Linked DNA regions of Homo sapiens: all the other regions are linked to region 2. Evidence: promoter capture Hi-C in human tissues and cell types (Jung and others, 2019). All regions are on one chromosome and are shown on one strand. Each heading gives the region's core, a stretch centred on a gene start or on the middle of the fragment in contact. The rest is flanking DNA. Distances are from core to core; before and after follow the strand shown. Region 1 holds the start of MAFF (MAF bZIP transcription factor F). Region 2 holds the start of GGA1 (golgi associated, gamma adaptin ear containing, ARF binding protein 1). Region 3 overlaps CIMIP4 (ciliary microtubule inner protein 4).

The links. Contacts are between HindIII fragments. The study calls those that stand out against the background at their distance.
Region 1: a contact is called between the fragment with the promoter of MAFF here and the fragment with the promoter of GGA1 in region 2, in 1 of the 25 tissues and cell types used here (neural progenitor cells).
Region 3: a fragment that was not itself captured here is called in contact with the fragment with the promoter of GGA1 in region 2 in 1 of the 25 tissues and cell types used here (pancreas).

What each region holds. Positions count from the first base shown.
Region 1 is chr22:38,200,472-38,203,383 of GRCh38, forward strand. It overlaps MAFF (MAF bZIP transcription factor F), which reads left to right and starts at 1,523. Exons shown (of 3, transcript NM_012323.4): 1 at 1,523-1,741. RefSeq lists silencers at 1,350-1,679, 1,740-2,179. The HindIII fragment of the contact is 8,533 bases long and covers 1-2,912 here.
Region 2 is chr22:37,607,396-37,610,131 of GRCh38, forward strand. It overlaps GGA1 (golgi associated, gamma adaptin ear containing, ARF binding protein 1), which reads left to right and starts at 1,439. Exons shown (of 17, transcript NM_013365.5): 1 at 1,439-1,508. The coding sequence starts at 1,466. RefSeq lists a cis regulatory region at 1-74, enhancers at 819-898, 1,049-1,218, 1,823-2,444, 2,159-2,268 and a silencer at 1,379-1,828. The HindIII fragment of the contact is 29,756 bases long and covers 1-2,736 here.
Region 3 is chr22:37,001,523-37,004,222 of GRCh38, forward strand. CIMIP4 (ciliary microtubule inner protein 4) reads right to left here. Exons shown (of 6, transcript NM_001163857.2): 2 at 2,444-2,503; 3 at 315-781. The coding sequence starts at 2,465. Among named protein-coding and RNA genes, the nearest start is that of CIMIP4, 5.0 kb to the right of the region's middle. The HindIII fragment of the contact is 5,555 bases long and covers 1-2,700 here.

The sequences.
Region 1 (2,912 bases), core at 273-2,772, 590 kb after region 2:
CAAGATTATGCCACTGCACTCCAGCCTGGGCAACAGAGTGAGACTCTGTCTCAAAAAAAAAAAAAGAAAAAGAAAAAGAAGCAAGGCCTGCCTTCATAAAACATACATTCTGGTTGGGGAAGACAGACAATAACCAGCACTCACATACATAAATGATGAAACACCCTACAGAAGTATTAAGATAATATAAGAACAAATTTCAAGGCTGGGTGCGGTGGCTTGCGCCTGTAATCCCATTACTTTGGGAGGCCAGCGTGGGTGGATTGCCTGAGTCCAGGAGTTTGAGACCAGTTTGGGCAACATGGCAAAACCCTGTCTCTACAAAAAAAAAAAAAAAAAAAAAAAAAAAAAAATACAAAAAATGAACCTAGCATGGTGGTGTGTGCTTATGGTCCCAGCTACTTGGGAGGCTAAGGTGGGAGAATGGCTGGAGTCCAGGAGAAGGAGGTTGCAGTGAGCCGAGATTGTGCCACTGCACTCCAGCCTGGGTGACAGAGTGAGACCCTGTCTCGAAAAAAAAAAAAAAATTCAGAGGTGAAGACTGCTTTAACCAGGGTGGTCAGGAAATGTCTCTCTGAGGCAGTGACATCCGGGCTGACGTGAAAGATGAGAAAGAGTCAGGCAAGTGAACAGAAGACCAGACAGCCAGTGCCAAGGGCCTGTCGCAGGAATGAGCTTGGTATGTTTGGGGGACAGAAAGAAGGGCACTGTGGCCGAAGAGCAGTGGATGAGGAGAGAGTGGCCAAAGAAGGTGTGTAAACAACCTGAGCTTTGTTTTGAGAAGAACATTGGCTGGTATAGAAAGAAAGACTTTGGAGGCAAAGTAGGGAGCCTCGGAGGCTGCTGCCATTGTCCGGGTAAGCTGATGGTGCCGAGACCAGGTGCCATGACTGGAGGTGGTGAGAAATGGTCCTATGCAGGAGACCTGGAGACACCGCTAGCTTGAGTCCTGAGGTGGGGAGGAAGGGAGAGGGAGGGATGGAGCCAGGCTCCAAGGTTTTGGCTTGAGCAGCTGAGATGGGGTGGCAAGGGAGCAGAGGTAGGGCTGACGATCAGGAGCGGGTTTTTGGGCCGAGTCCTCTGCAGTGCCCATCTGACACCCACTGGATGCGCAGAGTGGGCAGCTGGCTATGAGTCTGGAACTCAGAGAAGCTGTTCGCTCCGGAAATACAAACCTGGGGCTCATAGCCATATAAATGTCATTTAAAGCCACGGGACTGGATGAGATCATTAAGGCAGAAGGTCTAGGTCGAAAGAAGAGGGCCAGGACCACTACCTGTAAAATGAGCCAATGACACCTACACCCACGGGGCTCTCGCGAGGTGTCACGTGAACGCACCCAGCGAGCCCTGGAACCAGGCAGAGAATCGCGGCAGCCCCGGGGGCGGGGCTTCCAGGGGGCGGGGTCATACGGGGGCGGGGCCGAGGGACCAAGCGGCCGCTCCTGGCCGGAGGGCGGCCGGGTCGGTGACGTCACCGCATGACTGGGTTTTTATGAATGAAAGGAATCCTGTGAGTGAGTAATTCCGGGAAGCTCGCCTTACAACTCCGCGCGGCCTCGGCCCCCTGCGCCGCCCGCCCCACAACAAAACTCAGCGCAGCGCTCCCGGGCGCCCGGTTCAGAGCGACCTGCGGCTCAGAGCGGAGGGGAGACTGACCGGAGCGCGGATCGGGACAGCGGCCGGGACAGCGGCGAGACGCGCGTGTGTGAGCGCGCCGGACCAAGCGGGCCCAGAAGCGGGTGAGGAACGCGGGACCAGGAGGACGGTGCGCGGGACCCCAAGGCGGCAGGGTTTCTGCGTCCCGGGATGCGCCTGGGGTGGGCGCCCGGGCCCGATCCGTCGGGGCTCCCGGAGCTCCATCGCCCGGACGGCTCGGGGCGGGGAGAAGGGAGCGGCCGTCCCGGGGACGCCGAGGACGGGGCCGAGGCCAGCTCGGGGGAGTGGGGGTGGAGACGGGGCCCCTTCCCGGGGCGCGGGCGGGTAGGCGGCGGCGCCGGGAGGAAGGGGCAGCGCAGGCCGGCGATCTCCGCGTCCGCCCGGCGGGGGCGGGGGCGCTGTGCTCCTACGTGACTCGGTGGGAACAGGCCCTGGCCCGGCGCCCGCGGGCGGTGCGTGCGCGGTTTGTTTACGTCCGAGGGCGGGCGTGTGTTCCCTGGCGGGCGGCCTGGGTATCCTGCCCGGTGCGTGCGTGCGCTGTGTACCTCGGGGGCGTGTGTGCGTGTGTTGTGCTTGTGTGTGCGTGTCCGCGCGCGCGCTCCCTGGGGCCTGTACACCAGCAGTGTGTACCTCGGAGAGGGCGTGCCCTGGGCCGGCCACCGGAGTAAACGCGGAACAAGGACCCGAGCGAAGGAAGCGGACCCGTGCGTCTTCGCACGGGGTCTGGGAATTCTGGCCCGGGCCGCCCCAGTCCTACTACCCGGGGCTGTCCGTCCCCGGCTCTCCCCGGAGTTTCCCAGGGCCTCCGCCACGTGACCCCAGTGTTTGTCTCCCGCCCAGAGCCCGCGCCCGCAGCCACAGGGTGGGGCAAGGTATCAAAGACCCCACCCAGCTGAGCTAGGAGTGAGGGATGTGAGCCACCCCCGCTTGGCACCCCGGTGGATCTGGTAACAAAGTGAGTTGGAGCCCAGGTTCTTGTCCCCAGATTTTGGGGCTTCCTGGGGAGGGAAGAACCAAGGGACTCTCGTTCGTCCCCAGGGTTGCCCATCCCCTCAGTCCCATGAGAACAGGAAGGGCCAGAAAACCTTGACTGCAAGGGTGCGGCGCAGGGAGAGGACCACAGGCTTTTAGCTAGTCCGGGTTCTGGAGGCTGTACCTGCTAGGTCGTGGAGGATGGGGCGGAGCCGGTTTCCGCTCTCCTGGTAGTTTCAGTTCACAAGTGGGACTGGTGAGACTAGACTGACCTACAGCTGG
Region 2 (2,736 bases), core at 189-2,688:
TATCTTCCTCCCACTGCTGGACCCTTCTAAAACAAAAGCCTGACTTTGCTACCATCCGTAAAACTGTAACGACACCTCCAACGTTGCTTACAGGGAAAAAAAAAAAAAAGGGCAGCAAAACATGGGACCTGGGTGATCTTGCCCCAGCCTAATTCCAAGATATCTCCTGCAAATAGATATCTATTTGCAGATATCTGGGAGCCGTATTGAAATACTTCCAACTCCCTGGACTCATCCTACTTTTTTTTTTTTTTTTTTTTTTGAGACTGAGTCTCGCTATGCCGCCCAGGCTGGAGTGCAGTGACGCAATCTCGGCTCACTGCAACCTTCACCTCCCGGGTTCAAGCGATTCTTCTGCCTCAGCCTTCTAAGTAGCTGGCACTAAAGGCGCGCCCAGATAATTTTTTTTTTTTTTTTTTTTTAGTAGAGACGGGGTTTCACCGTGTTAGGATGGTTTCGATCTCCTGACCTCGTGATCCGCCCTCCTCGGCCTTCATCCTACTTTTTCTCCCTGAATATCTTTTCGCACCAGCTCTACGTGGAGAAATCCGACTGTCTTTGAGCGAAGTACAGTATCACTTTCTCTTGAAACCTCCCCTGACACGACCCCTCCCCTGACACGACCCCTCCCCTGACAACACCCCCACCCACCCCACCCCAGTTTGGGGGAGGAGCCCCCTCCTTTGTTCCCACTACCCCGTGGGCTTCCCCTATCACACTGTAATAAATATCTGGCCTTGTCTATCTCCTTCTGTGCCCATCACAGAGCAAAGCAAATACAAAGAGTTCATTAAACGTTGGCTGGATGAATGGAGGAGACGGCACAGGGTTCAAGCTCTGCTACTTGTGCGGCCTCAGGCCGACTAATTATCTGGTGGGTTTGTTGTAAGGAGTCAGAACTAAATGGATTAATTACAAATAGTGCTTAGGACAATGCCCAGAATACTGTAAGCACTCAAGAAACTGATTTATTTTCGTCATTTTCACAGCGGCCAAGGTACATGAGGATGTAGCTTATCGCCCTTTTAAGGGACTCTCCCACGTTCGACTCTAAGCGGAAGTACCCGCTCAGGGCTCCGGAAGTGGCCTCAGAGCCCCTCAGCAACATGCCCGCAGAGAATTCTTCCGGAGGCGGTCACAGACATCTCCGTGACGCAGAACGAGTTAGAGCGTCCCTTGGGGTTTCCATGGTGCTGCCCTTAGCCTGCAGTATCTCCACTTCCTCTCCCGCCTGAGCGCCGGGAACGGAAAAGCAGGCGGCCGGTCCCAGCTGCGACGTAGACGCCGCGTGGGGGTGGGGTTGGGCGAGTAGGTGACGCTCTAGGCGAGCTCGTTGGCCTCTCTATGGTGCCGAGCGCGCCCGTTCGGACGTTGCCCCTTTAATCGGCAGAGGGCGGTGCCCAGGAGGTCCCGCGAGAGCTGCGGGGGGCGGGGGGGCGGTGCCGAGGCTGGGGGCCGGTGGCGGATGGAGCCCGCGATGGAGCCGGAGACTCTGGAGGCGCGAATCAGTGAGTGTCCGGGAGGGGCGCGGGCCGGACCGGAACCGGAACCGGGGGCACGAGGCGGGCCCCTTCCCGGCGGGGGCGGGGTACGGGTCGCCCCCTCCTCACGCCCCGCCCCCGGCCCGGGAGGGGCGGTGTCCTCAGTCGGCCCCTCAGACCCTGGAGCGATGGAGGACCCCGGCCCCGGCGCGGTCCAGCGGTGGGAGCGGGCGCCGCCCACCTGTCGGATCCCTGGGCCATGACCCCTGGGACGGCGAGTGAGCTGCGCCGGGAACCCCCGGGACGGAGAGAGCAGCCTCCAACCCCCAAGGCTCACATTGCTTCACGGAGTAGCGGCCCGGGGAAGGAGCACGCGAGCGGTTCCCCGGGGTTGCATCTCACACCCGGGAGGGAGGGACCCTACTATTTTCAGGCCCCGAATCCTCCACTCTCTGGCCCTGCATGGCGTTCCTGGAGCCCGCAAGTAGTCACATTTGCTCATTACCCCGTCCTGGAAGGGAGGACCCACTGCCCCATTTGATTCCTCCCGCCGCTCCTAGTCTCTAGCCACATAGTGAGAAACCCCCGCACCCTACAGGCTTGGGAGAGTCTTAGACTCCAGAAGTATTAATAATTCCAAGCTCCCTGTCACTCCCTTCAGCCTAACCCCTCAGTCTCCAAGATGCCTTTCCCAGCTCTTGCTGAACTTCCTTCAAAGGCTTCTACACCCCTTTTTTTCTTGTTTCTCCTCAGACGTAGCTTCCTATTGCTTAGGCTTCCTAGCCCGCAAACCCTCCACCTGAGCTCCTTAACCCACAGCCCTGATGATCCCCTGCTCTCACAGCCCCGCTCCTGGACTCTGCCTCTGAAAGCCGTGGCTGGCTTCTCCCTGGTCTAGTGAGGGTTCTCTCCCAAGGCTTTAACTGCTGTTGGGACCCCGTCGTTGCCAGGGCCTCAGGGAACCCTCTTGGACCCGGGCACACCGGCAACTGTCTAGCGTGGTTTGGGGTCATGGCCGGCCCCTTTTAAGCCAGGCTTGAGCAGAGTTGAACCATGAGGTTGGCCCCAGAACCAAACCTCTAGGGATGTTTCAGAGTCATCCTAGCCACCAGAGGGGCAGGGGGTGGAAAAGGGGCACTCAGCAGCCCTTGACCGTTGTGAACGCCGGAAGTGTCCGCCTGGGTCTCAGCAGCAACTGGGCTGGGGGGATGGGTGGGCCCCTGGCTAACTGATCTCAGACACAGGTCTTGAGCTG
Region 3 (2,700 bases), core at 179-2,678, 610 kb before region 2:
TCTGCCGACCCAGTTTGCACCCTCGTCTCGCACAGTTAGGTGAATTTGGTTGACTGACTTAACTCCTCTAAGCCTCGGTCTCCTTATCTATAAAATGAGGACAATAATAGTACCTTCCTCATGGGTTGCTGGGAAGATGTAACAACTTGTTATATGTGAAGTTTAAACAGTGCACAGTGTTTGGCACACAGCAGATGCTCAGGAGATACTGCTTTCTAGTGGTATTATTATAGGGACTCTGTACTCAAGAGTGAGTTTATCTTATGTCCTCATTATAAGACTCTGCATCACCCTCCTGGCCCCTGCTATGACACCTGCTCCTCGGAGACCAGCTGGTCCACCACATTGCTCCCAAACTTGTGGCGAATGTTGTTAGGAATGATGCTGCCCTTCTGGTTCGTGGGCGTGCTCCTCTGGTCCTGAGCCCCCAAGCTGGGACCGTCATCCGTCCCCTGGCATGGCTGAGCCCCCTCTCCCGAGGTGGCCCTGTTCTCTCTCGAGGAGGATCGAGAGCCCGCATTCTTCAGGGACCTGGACTGTGGGTCCATGCCCAGAGAATCCCTGCTGGCAGCAGTCGGGGGTGGAGGGGGAATCTCCTTCAAGTGGCACTGCCCTAGGGAGCTGCCTTGAGCGCTGGCTCCCAGGGGCAGGGGCTGTGGGGATGACAGACCCTGGTTCTTGAACTTGGAGGTGTCCAAGGAACTGTAGGCCGCTTTCCAGGGGTCCAAGTCCTGTTGGCCCTCCTTGTCATTCAGATGGGCCCTGGTGAAAGTGGTTGTACCTGAGCAGGACAAAGAGAAACAGAGGGGGAGGGAGAGAGACACGCAGACAAGGGCAGAAAGTAGAGGGTGGGGAGGGGGCAGAGATGGGGGTGAGGAGGGGAAACGGACAGACAAAGAGCCCCAGAGCTCCACAGCCAGAGAAGGGGAGAGGGACGGAGAGGAAGCGCAGGAACCAGAGGCATGGGTGGGAAATTAGGAGACACAATGGGAGAAGAGAGGCCAGCCTGCGTGCCTCCCACGGGCAGGGTTAGTCCACATTGCCTGGGGCAACAAGGGCTGCCGCCTAAGCCTGTCCCGCCTTGAGGCCTAGCTGTGTGACCGCAAGCAAGGGACTTGGCCTGTCTGTGCTTTCATGTCCCTGGCTCCATTTGGATAGTTCCCTTCCCCACTTTTCCATCTTGAAACCTCCCCCTCACTCTCCGCAGTGAGAATCTGGCAGCAGCGGCACTGGCAGAGGCGTTCCTGGGGCTAAGCCACATGCCTGGGAAGTACTGGAGTTGGATGGGACTTCCAGACTTTGCTTCCAATGCAAGACTGCTCCCCAATACCTACCTCCTCCCTTCGCCAGGGCTGAGAAGTGGCACCATCCCAGCCACCTCCCAGGCTCTCTCCTCCCCGCCTCTCCCTGTCTCCCACGTCCCTGCCCACAGCCTCCGCTTCTCTAGGTCTCTTGCTCTCAGCCTTCAGTGTCTCCTCACAGCCTGGCCTCATCCTCCACCCCAGATTACAGCTGTAAATATGTTTGGTGGTCTTCCCTCCAAAACTTCAAGTCCTCTTAAAAGATACATAAGGGCTGGGCATCTTGGCCGTCAGGCCTCTGAGCCCAAGCTAAACCATCATATCCCCTGGATGATAAACCTCCGCAGAGTTTATCTAAATGTGGCCATGTATGAGGATTCCCTAGGCTCTCATTAAAAATACAGATGCCTGGGACCCTCTCAGAGCTGCTGCATCAGAAAGGCCCTGAATCTGAGTGTTTAACAAGCCCCTGGGCATTCAGGTCATTGGAGGAAGATTTTAGCAGGATCGCTGCCCCAACTCACTGGACTCTCTTCTCCCCATCCCACCTGCCAGCCCCAGCCAACCTGCACTCACCCCTGGGGACCATTCTCAGAGCGGGCCTGACTCAGTCACGCCTGCATCAAAATCTTTCCTCTTGTCCTCAGGGCAGAGTGCCTGCTCTCGGGACTCCACAAAAGTGCCAGCCGTCTCTCCCTCCCAAGCCTTTGCCTGAGCTATTTCTCCTGCCTGGAACACTCCCCTCCACTCCTTGGGCTACACTACCCCTGCTCTTGGCTCACGTGTAACCCCATATATACCTCCCATCCATTGAGGCCAGGCCCCTCACCATGTTCCCCCACAGCCCTGCCCTTCTGGTACACACAAGACTCAGAGCACCTGAGTCACCCCCTCAGGATGGAGACCATATCGGGGTGATAATCCCTGCACATGGCAGGATGGGAGGGCTCAGTAATTCCGTTCCCTCCTTTTTCCTTCTGTCTTCCAACAGAATGCCCCCCTAGGAAGCCTGGGCCGATGGTGGGTCTGGAGGCCAACACAAGACGGAGCGGGAGGAGAAAGGGCCGGTGCCCTGCTGCCCCAGGGAGTCCCTCCAGAAGCCTGGATGTGCATTCAGCACATCCCTGGTCTGCCTGTCCTACCTGCTCCGTGGCCCAGCTCCATAGCCTCTTGCTGTGGGACAGGCAATTCCAAGCTTAGTCCTGTAAACAAAGCACCACGTTTCATCGTCTCAGATAACACACAGAGTTTCTGTGAACAAGGATGAGCTGGGAGCTGAACAGGAAGGCCTGTGGCTGTCTGCCCGCCCCTGATCAGAGGTTCCTAAGCTGCCCCTGGTGCCCTCTGGCACTGCCCAGACCCACGGAGCCTCTGCCCCATTCACTCATCACCCCTGGCA